2 separate regions of the Homo sapiens genome follow, and region 1 is linked to region 2. The links are contacts of gene promoters, found by promoter capture Hi-C in blood cells and fetal thymus (Javierre and others, 2016). All regions are on one chromosome and are shown on one strand. Each heading gives the region's core, a stretch centred on a gene start or on the middle of the fragment in contact. The rest is flanking DNA. Distances are from core to core; before and after follow the strand shown. Region 1 has its middle 23 kb from the start of DEFB118. Region 2 holds the start of DEFB116 (defensin beta 116).

Region 1 (2,700 bases), core at 133-2,632, 37 kb after region 2:
TTCATTCACTGATGTTCACAAAGGCCCAACCTTTTGAGTTTTTTCTTCTATACTACTTTGGTCACCCATAGGGTTCCATTTTTTTAAATTTGGTTTTGCAGTTCTATACATCTAGATCTCAAATTTCAGACATACTTAACTAATAATTGTACATTTTCCTGAGATTTTGGGGTAATACAATCTGCTCTTTGCAAAATTTGTAAACATTTGTTACGTGCTAAATGGCATCTGGCATTGCGCTTGTGCAAACTTTGTGATTTCACATTAAATGTCTGCAAAACATAAAGAATTTTTAGAATTGGTTTTCATATATTTTATTACAACAAATCTCGCAAGATGTTACATCAGATGAGTAAACAGAACCGCTAGGAGAAATAAATAGTGAACAACAATTTGAGGAAAGCTTCCACATTCAGCAGAAATCCTTGTTAACCATTCACAGCAATGTTTCCTGAATATCGTATCACTTTCTTGGTCAAATGGTGGCCAACAAAATTTAAAAACTTCTTTGGTGAGAGACTGGTCCAGCATTTGAAACAAAAAATAAGAAACTATATGAAAGCCATCACGGTTCAGCTTATCAAACATGTTCACTCCAAGGTGCTTATTTGACACCCTTTGCAGGCCATGGTCAAACCCGGGCCTGGCTCAAAGCTGAGCACCTGCCGATACATTCAGAGATGCTTGTTCTGGAAAGAGGTGATCCAGGCCAAGGTCATCCTCATGATAGGCACGGTGACTGCAAAGAAAAAAAGCACAAGCCCTAGCGACTCTTGGGTCCTCAGGATCCCTCCCTATGGGCAGCCTGAGGTCTCAGAGGTCCCTTCTTTGCCACTGCCTGCATCTCTCTCGCTGGAGCCATTTCACCTCAAAGGGCTGTACAGTCTCCAGAAAATGGAGCCTGTCATGGGAATGTGGCCGCAGCTGCCTACTCGAAGCCTACAATATGTTCTTAACTAAACAGTAATTAAAGGACAATGTAATTTAAGCTTAAAAGTTCTAATGTTTAAAACATAAGCACCTTGTCAAGCACATTTTTGGACAATGTATATAATCCGTTGGTATAAACTACCTTCATTTGGGTAATCTGAAGAACAAATTAATTTATATCCATGAGAATAAATAGATTTTTTTTTAAAATGAAGATAATATGGTAACGATAGACTTCACTTTCTGCATCTCTCCAAATTTTATTTAAAAGTGTCAAGATAAATAAAGATTTACAAGTGCCATAATATTAAATTGTTCTAAAGCTCCTAAATGATGGATTTTAGAAAACATAAGTTAATTTTAAAGGATAATGAAATCACAGCTTATAACAACAATTTTACAGGGAAACAAGAACATTATAAAACTAGGCCCAGCTGGTTTAACTGATGAATAAACTCTACATAAATAGAATACTGTCTGAAGTTTATAAGAACCAAATTTATATGCACTACATGTTTAAATTGTGGCTCAATTTAATTGAAGACCTATGTTTTTATTTATATATTTAAATATTATAATTAATAAAAACATCTGATTTACAAATTAAGTGTAAGGAATGTAGGTATTTAACTGTTTTGTAAAATAATAAATAGATTAAAAGTCTTAAATAGACTAAAAATCTCATGTTTGTATTTTTATTTCCCACTGAGGCAAATTCAGAGAGAACAAATATAGACTTCTTTTAACCCAAACTTTATCAAAAAATAAAAATGTTTCCCCTGCTTGGGAGTATTAATGGGAACTGGATATAACTATAAAATCTCTCCCTCAACTAAATAATATTAAAAGCTTTGTGGAAGGATTTTATAATCCTTTTTATGATTACTCATTAAGCCTAAAGTTAATTTGCATATCTTTTATTCCCCATATTGTACGTGGAAGGAACATTAAGGTCATTTAACTAAAATTAGATTTTGCCTTTTCTCATCCAAAAACATTTTTAAGTGAAAGTATTTATATCAGAAAACAAGAACACCATTAAAATTATTTTTAAGATCTTTGTGATTTTGACAGAGTTCTTTATACATTTTTTATTTATATATTTTATGTTATTCCTGAGTATAATATTCCTTTTGACCAAAAGGTTTTAAACAATTCAGTACTTCAATTTCTTCATTTGCAAATAATCTTTTCAAGTACAAACCTATTATAAGATTCAGTCCTCCAAAGATGTATTTCTTTAATTTTCTTAATGTATTTGCACACCTTACAAGGTTTAATTGATGGCTCAACTCCTCAAGCACTTGCCACTTTCTCCCAGGCTGGAGTTTTTTTATTGAAGTGCTAACAAATTTAAGGCACTTGGAATTTGGGTTTGATTTAAAATTGTTTTCCCTGAAAGTTAATAAAACCTTTACACCCTTTCCAATAACCTCCATAGACAGGCTCACCTATCTAATGTAGAGATACCTTTTAAAGGAAACCTCTTTCTCTCCTCAGTCATATCACATCCACACCAACATTCAAGGGTCACACGGCTTCTGCAACTGTCAGCTATTTAGGCAGCATCAGAAAGCATCAGAAAAATGGACATGTTGGTAGGATTAGAGAAACCTCTTGGATTCTCACTCCCTGTTTCTCAATTTGCATGGGCTCACACATAGGAAAAAGTCTCACAATTGTGCCCACCCTGCCCCACCCCCTACCCCCCTACACCTCCCGGGCCCAGGAACTGAATCAGCACAAGAAGACATCTTCCACTCCCTGTGA
Region 2 (2,700 bases), core at 129-2,628:
AAGAACACTTAACATAAAATCCACTCCCTTGGTAATTTTTGAAATATCCAACACAGTACCGTTAACTATAGGAACTGTGTTGTACAGTAGATTTCTAGGACATATTCATGACAGTATAGTCTCTTCAATAAATGTATTGGGAAAACTAGGTATCTAGATGCAAAATAATAAAATTGGATATTTATCTTACACCATACACAAAAACAAATTCAAAATGGATTAAAGACTTAAATCTAAGACCTGAAACTATAAAACTCCTAGGAGAAAACATAGAGAAAAAGCTTCTTGACGTTGGCCTTGGGAAGGATTTTCTGGATATGACACCAAAGCACAGGCAACAAAAGCAAAAATAAACAAGGGGATTGCAGCAATCTAGAAAGTTTCTGCACAGCAAAGGAAACAGTCTACAAAATGAAGAAACAACCTATGGAATGGGAGAAAATATTTGCAAATCATATATCTGAGAAGGAGTCAATATTCTCCTTATTTCAATAGCCACAACCCTGCTGTGATGAATTCAACTGTCTTACTCAAGCTTAATCACCCCCAAACCCAGGCTAAGTCAATCCCTGCCCAGATAAACCTCACATACCCATGACTGAATAAGATACCCACTTTAGGCAAACACTAACTACAACTCAAGCCCTACCTCTTCTAATAACCACCAAAAGCCCAACTGCAAAACATACAAACATAACACTATCCAAGCCACCCAACCCCATTCACAGCATCAATCTAAAACACAACCCAGCTACAAACCTCTCTATACCCCAACTCCCAGTTGCACCAACTCTACCCCAGCTCCATTCAAGAAAAAATACCATTTCCTCTCTAGAATGCACCAAAACATCTATTCAGCCCAACCTATAAATACAATTATTCACCCCATGCTCATCCCCACTCACTTTTTGGATATTACCCTATCTCTAAGGTCTTACAACCTCCCCACCTCAACTCCCTACCCAACTCCAAACTGCTATACCCCTCCTATAGCTCCTCAACTTGCACACAGTCTCTCACACCTAACTCATGAATTAAGCCCCCATCCCAATGACAGCACTACCTAAAATGTTCCATGCTTAGACTGTCCACTATGCCAGGATCAACAACCTCTTCAATTTGTCTTGGCAGAGCAGAACCAGGGGAGATCTTTACATGAAATTAACCTTGGGAATAACATCTGTGACCCACCTGAGACCAGAAAAGGCTTTAGGTGTTGCCCACTATATGTGAGTAGGAGTCACTGCAGAGGTCACCAAGATACCAGTACCACATGCAAGACGCCAGAACCTTTGAGAGAGGCCTGAGTTACCTGGAGTCTTTTGAGCCAGGATCATAAGGATGGCAATGGTCATTAAACAGGGCTTCATGACTGACATGTTCCACCAGAATGAAGGGCTGTGTTGCAGGTGACCAAACAGAGATCACTGTAGCAGAGCAGTAGCCCGCCTTTATTAGTTTTGGAAATGCGTCAGGGTTCTGTGCAGTGAACTAAAAGGGATGGGAGATACCTGATGTCAGGCAGGAAGAAGGACAACATGTATCACTTATCTGAGCTGGATACTCTGTGTAAGCGTGGGAGACTTGCCAGCAGTGCTCATGTCTGTGTGGGCCTTTCTTCCCATTAAGAAATAAAGACAAATTAGAGCCAGTTGGCATTTTGTGTGAAACGAATTTGAATGAATGAATCAACCAAGCAAGCAAGCAAACTTGAAAAAACTTATAAACAATTAGATAAGAAATAAGCACGTGTATACCTATGTGAGGCACGTGTATACCTATGTAACAAACCTGCACGTTCTGCACATGTACCCCAGCACTTAAAGTATAATTGTAAAAAAAGAAATAAATAATTATTTTTAACTGTAGTCACCATGCTGTGCCCACAGAACACCAGAACTTATTCCTCCTATCTAACCGAAAGTTTGTACCCATTGACCAATGTCTCCCCTTTCCCCATCCACCCTCCCTCGAGGCTCTGGTAACAACCATGCTAATCTCTACGTCTATGAGTTCAATTTTTTTAGATTCCACATCTAAGTGAGATCATATGGTATGTGTCTCTCTGTGCCTGCTTTATTTCACTTCACATAGTGTCTTCTAGGTTCATTCATATGATTGCAAATAACAGAATTTTCTGTTTTTTAAAGGCTGAATAGTACTCCAGTATCTATAGTTAATAATAATGTAAAGAGCTAAAAGAAAGATTTTTAAATGACCTCATCACAAATAAATAATAAATATTTGAGGTGATGGACATGCTGATCTCTCAATTAATTGATCCCTTTATTATTATATAATGACCTTCTTTGTCTCACTTTGTGGTTTTTTACCTAAAGTCTATTTTTTCTGTTGTAAGAAAAGCTGTTCCTGCTCTTTTCTGGTTTCTTTTTCCATGGAACATCTTTTTCCATCACTTAACTTTCAGCCTATGTGTTTCCTTAAAACTGAAATGAGTCTCTTGTAAGCAAAATACAGTTGAGTCATTTAAAAAAATCAATTCAGCCACTCCTTCAATTGGCAAACTGAATCCATTTACATTCAAAGTAAGTATTGATAGGTAAGGATTTACTTTTGCCATTTTGTTCATTCTTTTCTGGTTATTTTATACATCCTTTGTTCCTTTCTTCCTCTTTTGCTATCTTCCTTTGTGATTAGATTATTTTCTATATTAGAATGCTTTGATTCCTTTCTTCTTAT

What was found. The method cuts DNA at HindIII sites, captures the fragments that hold promoters and counts their contacts. A CHiCAGO score of 5 or more calls a contact.
Region 1: a contact is called between a fragment that was not itself captured here and the fragment with the promoter of DEFB116 in region 2, in 3 of 17 cell types (total CD8 T cells, total CD4 T cells and naive CD8 T cells). The highest score is 5.3, in total CD8 T cells.

Annotation. Positions count from the first base shown.
Region 1 is chr20:31,344,154-31,346,853 of GRCh38, forward strand. It overlaps the pseudogene HAUS6P2. Among named protein-coding and RNA genes, the nearest start is that of DEFB118, 23 kb to the right of the region's middle. The HindIII fragment of the contact is 790 bases long and covers 988-1,777 here.
Region 2 is chr20:31,307,207-31,309,906 of GRCh38, forward strand. DEFB116 (defensin beta 116) reads right to left here and starts at 1,379. Exons shown (of 2, transcript NM_001037731.1): 1 at 1,313-1,379. The coding sequence starts at 1,379. The HindIII fragment of the contact is 2,687 bases long and covers 534-2,700 here.